3 separate regions of the Homo sapiens genome follow, and regions 1 and 3 are each linked to region 2. Evidence: promoter capture Hi-C in human tissues and cell types (Jung and others, 2019). All regions are on one chromosome and are shown on one strand. The core of a region is centred on a gene start or on the middle of the fragment in contact, and the rest is flanking DNA. Distances in the headings are between cores, read along the strand shown. Region 1 has its middle 7.2 kb from the start of CPLX4. Region 2 holds the start of RAX (retina and anterior neural fold homeobox). Region 3 overlaps GRP (gastrin releasing peptide).

What was found. Contacts are between HindIII fragments. The study calls those that stand out against the background at their distance.
Region 1: a contact is called between a fragment that was not itself captured here and the fragment with the promoter of RAX in region 2, in 1 of the 25 tissues and cell types used here (H1 embryonic stem cells).
Region 3: a fragment that was not itself captured here is called in contact with the fragment with the promoter of RAX in region 2 in 1 of the 25 tissues and cell types used here (mesendoderm cells).

The regions. Positions count from the first base shown.
Region 1 is chr18:59,323,938-59,327,792 of GRCh38, reverse strand. No RefSeq gene overlaps it. Among named protein-coding and RNA genes, the nearest start is that of CPLX4, 7.2 kb to the right of the region's middle. The HindIII fragment of the contact is 3,967 bases long and covers 566-3,855 here.
Region 2 is chr18:59,272,204-59,276,175 of GRCh38, reverse strand. RAX (retina and anterior neural fold homeobox) reads left to right here and starts at 2,722. Exons shown (of 3, transcript NM_013435.3): 1 at 2,722-3,258; 2 at 3,562-3,815. The coding sequence starts at 2,970. The HindIII fragment of the contact is 4,384 bases long and covers 1-2,986 here.
Region 3 is chr18:59,224,512-59,228,594 of GRCh38, reverse strand. It overlaps GRP (gastrin releasing peptide), which reads right to left. Exons shown (of 3, transcript NM_002091.5): 2 at 2,861-3,103. Among named protein-coding and RNA genes, the nearest start is that of GRP, 6.4 kb to the right of the region's middle. The HindIII fragment of the contact is 4,769 bases long and covers 1-4,071 here.

The sequences.
Region 1 (3,855 bases), core at 1,300-3,799, 52 kb before region 2:
TAAGTTGCCATTTGTTTTTCAGACACAACCTGTATTGTGATAGCATTTCATTTATCACATGCTTTAGGCTCTGCCCGAGGTGGCCTGCTGCATGCAGAGGCAGTACATGGAAGCATGCCACGAGAACATAGAAATGGTCATGGATAACTGTTTACCCTTGCTGGTAATGAAAAATACAAACTAATTAAAACAATGTACTTGATGTTTTTACCTCTGATAACCAAATGATGGCAGAAGTGTAGTTAAGCTGGAACTCCTAGTCATTACTAATTAGTGGTAGTTTAAAAAATATTTTAATCTTTTTGACAAGTACCATTTAACCAAGTAATTCCAATTCTGAGAGTTAATGTAAAAAAAAAATAAAAGAGTAGGGCTTTGAGGTTAGACAAATCTAGGTTTGAATCCTGGCTCTCTCACTTACTGGAGGTGACCTTCAGTTTCCTCATAATACTTATCTCGCATGGTTATAAGCATAGTAAAAGAGCGTCTTTATAAGGAGGCTTCAAAAAATGATAGACTAATTGGTAAAGACAAATGGTGGATAAGATGAAAGATTTAAATACATAGATGGGTTCGAAAGAATTCAGAACTTAAAACCCGATCAGGAAGCCTACTAGTAGTAGGGAGTGGCAGAAACTAGACTACACATAGGCCCTAGGTACTGTCATTGAAAATTATTGACATTGTCATTGAAAATTCATTTGTGGCATTGAAGACATGGCTTTAGGCCTAGAAAACCCAGGAGGCTCGAACTGAGATGCTAGGATAAAGTGAGGACTCTGGAAGAGCTGCTCCTTCAGTGGAAATGGGCTGAAAGGACCTCTTACTTCCACCCCAACAGCTCCGAGAAGGCGTAGGAAGCTCTCTCCCTGGAGCTCTGGGTAAGGGGACATTTGTTAAGAAATTGAAGCCCAGCTGTATGCTTTACCTATATGGTGTGGAATTCTTTTAAGTCAAAAACAATGTGTAAATTTGTTCTTGTCTGGGAAAATCCAGAAGGCAAAACAAAACCACTCATTAGCAATAATTGCACAACAAAAGTACATTAGACAACCATAGGGACAGCCAGTCCTAACTAAAATGAGCTCTAAAAACTATAAACCAAACCAGAGAAATACGAAAGAGTGACAGTAGATACAATAATGAAACCTGGCACCTCCAAGAATCTGAGATGATAGAACAGTCAGAAGAAGACAACAAATATGTATACTTGAAATGACATTAAAAATACTGAAGAGTTTATAAAAGGACTGGAAATCATGAGGAAGGAATGAAACACTGAAAAATAAGACAGTTGGAGTTCCAAAGGACCACCCAAAACACAACTTTGATATGGGAGGTGGGGATCAAATTTGGATACCAGATTGGACAAAGCTCGAAAGAATTCTTGAATTAGAAGATAGACCTGAGCAAATTACCGAGAGTACAACACAGATATTAAAGTGGTGGAAAATGCAATAAATTGGCAATTGGTGAGAAGGTACAACATAAGTCTACCAGTAGTTCTAGAAGGAATTGGGAGAGTCATGATGAGGAACTGTTCAAAGGTGTAATAGCTAAGAATTTTTCAGAATTGATGCACACACGTATTTGAAGAATCTTGAGTCTGAGGCAGGGTTGTAGGTTGGAGAAGCTTCCCACAGAAGATGTTATCTGAGCCATATGCTGAAGTATGTGTAGTGCAAGGGGGACTGGAAGTGAACTTACTCCAACCAGAAAAAATAACATGAACAAAAGCATGGAGTTAAGAAACTGTAGTTTATGTGAGAACCTGTAAGCTTATTCTGCTATGCTGGGAAAAATGTTGGGTGGGATATACAGAGGCCAGATCCCAAGGCTCTGTAAAGGAGCTTGGACTTCATCCAGAGGGTAATGGAAGGCCATGAAAATCAAGCAGAAAGGCAATAGCATTTCAAACATTGCAATCTCTGTTTGCTTCATGGAGAATGGATTGGAGGAAGGAGACTTGAGAGAGACCAGCCGCAGTGCTCCCAGTGAAAAATGGTGGCCTGAATGAAGGCCAAAACTCTTATCAATAGTAGCATTGGACAATTAGAGTTAGTTTGGGCCACTCTAACAAAATACCATAAATGAGGTGGCTTATAAAAAACAAATTTATTGCTCACTGTTCTGGAAGACTGGGAAGTCGAAGATCAAGACCCTACCCTAACAACCCAATCACCTACAAAAGGCCCCATCTCCTATTAGTAACACCTTGGGCGTTAGGATTTCAACATAGGAGTGTTGGGACAAAACGTTCAGGCCATAGCAAGCATCTAATGACTATTAGAAGTGGGGAGTGAATGAGAAGGAAGAATGTAAAATGATACTCTGTTTCTGGCTAGTAGAATTAGATGTAAGGTGTCCTAAAACAGGGAACACAAGAAAAAGGATGGGAATTGAAGACGAGGGAAGAAGAGGTTGAGTTCCATTTGGAACATAGATTCTGACATTAACTAACCAAGTAAAAATGGCCAGAAGGCAATATAGGCTTGGAGTCAGGGCAGAGACATACCTTAATCTTTTACCTCTAAAATGGGGTGATAATTGAGATAACAGAGCACCATAAATAGAGCTTAGAAACGAGATGCTTATGCCCAATAAATGTTAGCTATTGTTAGTCTATGCGTCTGAAAATCAGAGAGAGAACTGACCCAGAACAGTACAACACAGGATTTTTGGCTCTTTACCTGCTCATGAGTTGTAAAAAAAAGGAAATGGTCCTCAGCAGTGCTGGGAGTCCCATTCCGTTTCTCAGATCCTCACAAATAAGTCCAGAAGCTGCCTGGTCAGCTGCCACATGGCATTTACTCTTTTTCTCTTCTCTGAACCCCTGTGATGTCCATTGGGTGTTGCTCCTCCTGATGGCGTCATCCCCTATGTTGGCCCTTAACTGCTCTTTATTCTGGATCTGCCATTTCTGCCATGTCAGCCCAGCAGTGGCACCGTTTCTGCCATGTTCCATCACACACACAGGCCCCACTGCTACTCAGGAGGATTTCACTGTCCTGCCAAACAAGCAGCCACTTCTGTCATCTGGACCAGGCACCCTCACGACTGCCATTGCCCACAGAAGCAATGGAGGCTTCCAGGAGCCAGTCCATGGAGTGGTGTATTAGGTTCTTCAGAGTAACAACCTTTAAATACATACACGCATACATATACACATATATACATATAAAATAAGTAAGGTATGGCTCACATGATTATGGAGGCTGAGAAGTCCCACGATCTGCCATCTGCAAGCCGGAGACCCAGAAAAGCCAGTTGTATAACCGGAAGGCCTGAAAGCCAGAGCCAACGGTATAGAGTCCATCTGAGCCTGAAGGCCTGAGGACCATGAGTGTCCCGGGCAGAGGAAGATCAGTGTTCCCAGCTCAAGCAGAGAGCAAATCCAACTTTCCTCTGGCTTTTTGTTCTATTCAGGCCCTCACAGATTGGACGATGCCCACCCACACTGGGGAGGACCATCTGCTTTCCTCAGTCAGCCAATTCAAATGCAAATCTCTTCCATGAACAGCCTCACAGACACACCAGAAACAATGTTTAACCAGATAATGCTGGCATCCAGTGACCCAGTCAAGTTGGCATGTAAAATTAACCATCATGGGTAGTTTGTGGCCAAATGGAGAAGAATGACTCTCTCCCCGCTGCATGTTACTTTCTGTTAAGAAAATACTAAAGCAGTGATGCATGGGCCCCAGTGTCAGAGTTCTCAGTGAGAATGGCTGTTACTATTTAATTAAAGGTCTATCTCTAGGAAACAGTCCTAATGGGTTCATGAGCCTTGGCCAGGGTGAACCTGAGTGAAAGACACTACAGAATTCCTCAAGCCTCTGGGAACTAAGGCTTTGT
Region 2 (3,972 bases), core at 1,473-3,972:
TCACCACCACCCCTGCCCTCGCCAGTGGCTGTTGAAGTCTTTTCTGCTTTTTTCCCCAGACTCTGAAACAAACAGTAAATAAAAGCTAACCTCACCTGGACTTATTAGGAGGAGCTGGGCAGTTCCAGAGGAATTAACTTTGGAAAACAAGGCCATAAACCCCTTAGCAGCGTGTGGGCAGGAGCTTAAGGAAACGCTGCCAATCTTTGTTTAGCGGTGATTATCGAGATCAATTTAATATTGGGGAAGTTTGCATAAAAAGCATTCTCGGTCAGAGGGGGAACAACAAATACCAATTAATTATCCCCACAGCTGCCCTCTGATCACCACCACCTCAGCACGTCAGCCACCTGGTCTATGTCACTGGCAGTCAGACCTTTTCGGGTGCCACCAGGCCATTTGTGGGCCCTGGAAAGGTGGAGGAGGGGCGGAGGAGGAGGCAAAACCTGGTCTGTCAGGGGACTTTCCAGAGGGTTTGTTAATTTGCCCTGGATGCCGGTACCCAAAGCCCACTCTCTATAGGCTCTGACTTTATTTCTTCTGGGAGCTAAACTGCTTCTACCTCCGCCTCTTAGATGCAGAATCCAGTCTCAGGGAAGGATTAAAGACAGACTGCAGGCTAAGATGGGCTTTGATTCTTTTCAAAAAGATCACACACTACAATAATAATTACAAATGAGCTGCAGGCAGAAAACACTGGACAAGGAGTCAGTGGCCTGAGTTCTAGTCCTGACCCTTCCACTTAATAGCTGTATCACTTTGAGCCTCAGTTTCCTCTTCTGTAAAATGGGGACCAATATGTCTGTCCTGCTCACCTCACAAGGTTGTGAAGATCAGATGACATGAAGAATGTGAGAAGATTCTGAAACCTACAAAGTGACATGTCGAGAGAATTGCTTGAGCCCAGGAGTTCCAGGCTGCAGTGAGCCACCATCATGCCACTGCACTCCAGCCTGGGCAACAGAGAGGGACCCTGTCTCTAAAATAAACAGACAAATAAATAATAAGTAAATAAAGTAATATGTGAACACTGTAAAGTGCTATTAACTTTCATTAATTTTAGCTTTTTTCTTAAAAGATAATTTCTGACTTGAATTAGTTCAATTTCTATCTCCTGCAGTCACATGCTTGCCCTTATTTTAGTTTGCCATTATATAGTTTTATTAAAAGTAGATATGCCCATCATGGGGAATTAACCATTGAATGATCCTTAAGAAATTGACTTGTCCTCCGCAAACATCCTTCTAACACCAATTTAAAGGTTGGGGATCTGAGGATGTGTGTTTTCCCTCTTCCTTTGTCTTGTCTTCCAGACTGGACGTTAAACTCCACCAGGCCAACGGCCCTGGCCTTTCCCAATTTGTTTGATGCCCACGACGTGGCCCTCGACGGTTGCCTTGCCCTCTAAAGGGACGCAGCAAACGCTTGTCTGAACGCAAGCGGGATAAAGAAGACACCCCTGCTGTGGAGATCAGAGCGCCTACTGAAAAGGAGATTTTAGGGATATTGTCCTCTAGGTCCTTGAGCTTTTATAGGAAAGCATTTTAATTCACGGTTCAGGCCACCAGTTCAGGGAAGGCCAAGCGCTCGCCTCGGGTCTCGCCTCAGATTTGAGGGGTGAGACGTTCACAGCGCCATTGTCCATCCGCGCTGCTGGAGGTGAAACACACTCACCCTATCCAATCATCTTTCCAAGTGGCCGATCAGTCACTGTGGGCCACGGAAGCCTCGAGGGGGTCCAAAGGAGAAAGAACTGCAAGCCAATTACTCCTGAACCCTCGGGGAGGCGAGAGGCCTCTTCCCCGGGAGAAGGTCCTTCCCCAGCCAGCTCTGGGCCATCTCCTTGGCCCGGAGTGTTGGAGGGAGGCGGGAGTGCGACACCGCTGCTCATCAGTAAAGGAGCCCGCCCTCCCCGCAGGACAAGGGGCGGGAGCGAGGAACTCCAGGTGGGTCTCCTGCGGGACCTGAGCCCGGCAGCACATCCGACTCGGGGCTCCCAGTCTCCTGCTGGGCGATCGGGCGCTAGAGGTCACCGGACTTGCGGACATAAATGGCCCTGGGGTGGGCGCTGCGGGGAAGGAGGGAGGCTGCCGGCGCTCAAGTCCGAGGGGACTGGGAGGAGTTACAACAGATATAGACGGACAAACTAAACGCGAGGTCCGGGACTTCGTACAACCCAGCCAAGAAAGGAGTGGGTCCCGAAAAGGGAGCCAGCGAGGGGAAATTCAAACTGCGACGAGTGCGGGGCTGGGAAGCCTTCGGCTGGGTCTCGGCGCTTCCAGGGGGCACAGGCCAGGGTGGCGGCCCCGCGGAGGTGAGCCAGAGGGGGCTAGAGGGGCGAGTCTGAAGCTGGGGAGGGGTGCGTCCAAGGAGGGAGGTGACCCCCAGGGGGTAGTCTGAAGTGAGAGGGTAAGCCCGAAGTAGAGGGAGACAAACGCAAGGGGAGAGATGAGCCCAAGGGCGTCGGCCCCACTGAGGCAGGACTAGGGGTGCGCCGCGACCAGGTTCCCGAGCCCATCAGGCATCCCGCCGCGGATCCCCGGAGTGTGTTTGTAAAGCTTAAAACGGATCAAGAGGTGGAAGGGGAATATTCCTAGTGCCGGCCCAGGGGTGGCCACTAGAGGACCCTGTGGCTGGGCCGGGTGAGGACACGCCCCTCTGTGGAGGGAGGGGCCGAGAGAAGGGGCTGGGTCCAGGGCGAGAGGGGAGGAGCCGAGGGCCAGTTGGCTCCCCGCCTTTAGCGCCGAGAGCCCCAGCTACCCCGAGCCCGAACTTCCGACTTCTGGGACTAAGGCGGCAGCGGGCTGAGCGCTCGGCCACCCCCAGCGTGCGCAGCCCGGGCGGGCTTCGCCCGCGGAGCTTGACCTAGGGTCGGGACCCGTCGGGTTGCACCGCCGCACTCGGGAAGACCCGGCTTCGAGCCTCTCCTCTCCGTCTCCAAAGCGCCCTCCCGCCTCCCGGCGCTCCCCATGCACCTGCCGGGCTGCGCGCCAGCCATGGCCGACGGGAGCTTCTCGCTTGCCGGCCACCTGCTCCGCAGCCCGGGCGGGAGCACCTCGCGACTTCACAGCATCGAGGCCATCCTGGGGTTTACCAAGGACGACGGGATCCTCGGCACCTTCCCGGCGGAGCGGGGCGCCCGGGGCGCGAAGGAGCGGGATAGGAGGCTGGGCGCGCGGCCCGCCTGCCCCAAGGCGCCCGAGGAAGGCTCCGAGCCCTCCCCGCCGCCAGCCCCGGCGCCCGCCCCCGAGTACGAAGGTGAGTGCGCACCCCTGGCTGTGCGAGGCCGTTCGGGCGCCCGAGCTTAGGAGTTGGCCAGACGAGAGCGCCCCTTCCTTAACTTTTATTAAGGCAACTGGGCGCGGGGTTGGGGACCGTCTATGGCGGGAGCTTCCAATTTGCATTCAGAGAAAGCTTAGGACCCATCGCCGCCCTCACCACGGACCTCCCCGGGCCATCTCGGAGCCCGCAGGCGGGCTGGCCAGTGCCCACAGCGAGGCGGGGTCGGCCCAAGGGTGTTTTGGGGAGTGCATCTGACCCTCCCGGGCCTCGTCGCCCCAGCCCCTCGACCCTACTGCCCCAAGGAGCCCGGGGAGGCACGGCCGAGCCCAGGGCTGCCCGTCGGGCCAGCCACCGGCGAAGCGAAACTGTCAGAGGAGGAACAGCCCAAGAAAAAGCATCGGCGGAACCGCACGACTTTCACCACGTACCAGCTGCATGAGCTGGAGCGCGCGTTCGAGAAGTCCCACTACCCGGACGTGTACAGCCGCGAGGAGCTGGCCGGCAAGGTCAACCTACCAGAGGTCCGGGTCCAGGTAAAGCGCCCAGGTTGAGGAACTGGGATCTGGGAGGGCCCGAGGCCCAAATTGCAGCCAATGCTTCTCGGAATTCACGGGTGTCCATGCATTTATTACTGTCCTTCCTCGACTTGGCATGCCCAGAGTCTCAAGGGAGAGGCACAGATCTTCGATG
Region 3 (4,083 bases), core at 438-2,937, 47 kb after region 2:
ATCTAGTTTCAGTGCACATTACACACATCCTTTATGAATTAAGTAAATATCTTTGTCATCAAAACATAGGAAATGCTTGGAGTTTCTAACCACAGCTCCAAGAGAGTTGGCAACAGTACTTGATGTTTTATTACTAAAATGAGAGAGGAGAGCATATGTAGATAGTTTTTAATTTTAAGAACAGTCCTTCAGCCTCTGAAAACTCCTGCTGCTAATTCTGGCAATGCTTAGCTAAGTTATTAAGTTTCCCTCTAACACTCCCATAACTCTAAGATATGGGAGATATATGGGTTCTAATAGAACTACTCTCTTGGCACCCCTTCTTTTTGAATAAGATCATTGTAAGGTGTTTTCAATTTTCATAACAGCATACTTTCATTGAGGTGGAATTTCCAGTGCAAGAGAAGCAATAAAATATTTTGGTCTCTGCAAACACTAACTGTGGAACTTGTTTTTGTGTTACTAGGAAATATAGCCAAAAGAATAGTACCAATGTGTGCGATAACTAATTATTCAACTGGAGGTGGAATTAAATGAGATGGGCTTTCTAAACCTGTAAAAAGAAAAACAATGCATAAAAATAATAGAAAAGCAAAGCCTGATTTTTTTTATCATCTTTTTGATGACCTTTTTCAGTTCACTTGGGATAAGGACTGCCCCCTTTAAGCAGTCACTCTCGGCAGCTGCCCACTCAACCCATCCTATTATACTGCTACTCAGACACCTTTGTGGAGCTATTCTTTTTGCTGTTGCCTTTGAAGCTTACAGAATATTCTTCTGAATGTGGTGGAAAATTTTTGATCCTTAAGGAAGGAGTTGAATTTGCCAAAAGATTCCAAAGATATGCAGAGCCAGGTTGAGGAAATAAAATAACAAACTGGACACTGCTGTTTGTTTCAAAAATGAGGCACTATAGAATAGTAACATGATTGTGTGTTAGTAGAGGGGAGTATTTCATGAACGAGCTATGAGGGCAAGTCCAGTTCAATGTTTGCAAAAATTATTTTCAAGGGTTTTGTGGTGGCAATTTTTATTACTGTTCAGACAAATGAGAAGGGTACTGCTGTTGGATATCCACCTACAGGAACTCTGGCAAAGCACCTGACCATGAAAAAGGCATGGCAGCTAGAATCTGAGAAGTCACCTGCAAGTTCACAGAACCCTCAGAGTATGGGATCAATCAGTAAAGAAGGGGGCTGATGACATAACACCTATGACACAGGTATGGACCAGACAATCGCTTGGGGTTTTGTACAAAGTTGGTATTTATTTCTGTATTGGTTTATTTAATCTAGGATTGTTTTTGGTTTTTGTTTTTTTTCTGAATAAAAGCTACAAAGACTTTCCCTCTAGGTGCTTAGTGCAACAAGTGAACTTCAGTTTCCATTTAGCATAGAAACCCACATTTGGGAGGCCAAGGCTGAGGGAAATCACTTGAGCCCAGGAGTTTGAGACAAGCATGGGCAACATAGCCAGTCCTTGTCAAAAAAAAAAAGAGAGAGAGAGAGCAAGAGAGAAAGGAAAGAAAAGAAAGAAAGGAAGAAAGAAAGAAAGAAAGAAAGAAAGAAAGAAAGAAAGAAAGAAAGAAAGAAAGAAAGAAAGGAAGAAAAGAAACCACATAGCCAGAACTTGTAAGAAAGGAAGGAAGAAAGAAAAAAGAAAAAAAAAGAAAGAGAAAGACCAGAATAGACCCAAAGGGCAGTGAAATAGAAAGCTTCCCTCCAGAAAGCCAGCCGAGGCTTGGCAAAGGCAGCTCTGAGCCCCTAAAGGGGCCATCAGTCTTCACCATGAAAGAGTGAAGAAGGAAGCTCTCCAGTACTGTGAGTGGAAAGCAATATTATTTATTGTCAGAAGCAGCAAGTAGCAAGGCCTTCAGCCTGGATCCTTTATATTAAGATCAATGAGGACCATTTCTGGAAGATGTCTGGCATGGTACAGACTGTCTGAGGCCGACTGAACACAGGCCCTTACCCTGATTTTATCAGTGAAAAGCTATGGGACTAGTTTCCTTACCTCTAAAATGGAGAGAATAATAGAATCTTCCGTCTAAGACTTCTGTGAGCATAAGCCGAGAAAATGGAGGTAAACTGCTTAGCCCAATACTTGGATTATCGTAAATATTCAGTAAAACTAGCCACCGTTGTTATTGTAATTATTATTTTGTATTTTATTATACATTTCATGGAAACTTAAAAGTTAGTGATAATCACCTCATTTTCAGTTGCCTTGCTTTCTTCCTGTAAATTTTATTCTCTCTTATCTTGCTCACTGTCTTTAAGCATTGCCAGTTTAGTATAATTATTTTCCCCTATCCTCTATAAAATCATATACAGGATGGATTTGTTGATCTCAGACATGTTCACTGAGTTTTAAAATATTAGGATGAAACCTGAACTAGGTACTCCTGGAACAAATATGAAGAAGTGCTACTTTGTGTCAAAGGTAGCAAACAAGAATGCTGTCTTCTAAAAACAGGAACTTCCACTAGTGTTCACCAGAAATAAAATAAAATCTGTAGATCCACAAGGATTTACTCAAATAGTTTGCAGACTCACTATCAAAACATTCTTGTAGGGCCTGTGTGTTAAAAAAAAAATCCCATCAATGCGTAATGGCAAATAGACAAAATTGCTGAAAAAAACTCCTAAATTGGAGTTTGGAATCAATATCCTTTTGACTATATGTCAAAAAGAAGAGAATGTAGAAATTGTCTGTCAATGTGCTTAGCATGTGTTAGCCTAATGTAGTGACTGTGAAGGTTTATATCATAAGCAATTCTATTCTTCCTCCTTTGAACTTGCCCTCTTTCCACCTCTCCCCAGATACCTCCCACCCCATCTTGCATGTATGTTTCTTTTACCTTTGCCTTTTGAACCTACATCTTTGAAGTTGCTGCTATCCTCTGAATCCCACGAAGGCTGCTGATTGCCCAGGGCCTTGGGTTGAGGTGGCTGGTGGTTTCTGTTCTCCTTTGCTTCTATGAGACCCAGCAAATTCCTTGCAGCTTCTTCCCACCTGATGTACTCTCTCAGCTGCTGCTTCAGGCTCCCTCTCTCAGAAACAGAAGAAGACTCCCCTGTGCTCTTTTTCCCCATTAAGTGCCCTGTAAAAACAAAAACAAAAACACTCAGAATGCCACAAATTTAACCAAAGGGAATGAATGAGAAATTTAAAAGAAATTTAAAGCTAATTGTGTTTGTGCTGCTTCCTCCTAAATGCAGAATAAATCATGTTTTATTAAGAGTTAGTTCATAAACGACAGATAGATTTTGCTCTCTGTTCAAAATGTGCAATGAGCTAGACAGCATTCAGAACTGCAACCCAGGAACCCTGGGTTTGGTTCCAGCACCTCTCCTAACTAGTTAGGTCACCTCTGCCAAGTCGTTTAGCACCCCTAGTCTTCAATTTTCTCAACTATAAAATGAACAGGGTAGACTAGATTAAATCTAAGGAGGCTTCCATATCTAAAATTCTATCATCAATTCTGTGTGCACCAAATTCTATTTCCAGCTGAAAGATGGAGTTTAAACATCTTCCCCAGCCAATTTTGAATTGCTGCTGAAAATAAAAGTCTCCATGCTTTTCTTTGTGTGGTTTTTTAAAAATATTTCTTTCCTTTTATCGTAATAAAAAAAATACCAAAGGAATTTTTCATTTAAACTTTCTCAGAGTTTTAGTTGAGACTGAACTGAGAAAACTACCCAGATTTACTGTTTGTTAAGAGTGTAGTGAAAAACAAGTTGAAAACAAGCCCTGAGTAACACTTTACAGCCGCATAAATGCAGAATTTTCTCTTGGGTGTCTGAAAGTCTATCAGTGGCTCCAGGAATGTGTACTAGCCTTGTAAATAATTTTTTTAAAAAGCTGCTGTTAAGGAGGCCAAACCATCAAAAACATGAAAATTTATGTATGCAAGAGAGGATAACTTGGAGTCAGAAGTGGGTACAGAATTCAAGGTCTGCATTCTTAACACTTTAGACCCTTGCTTGAATATTCTCATGTTCTCTATTTCTTACAGTTGATTTTTCCTCTCTCTGTAGTTGGACTTTGTAGCACTTTGAAATTTCTAACGTCAACAAAACT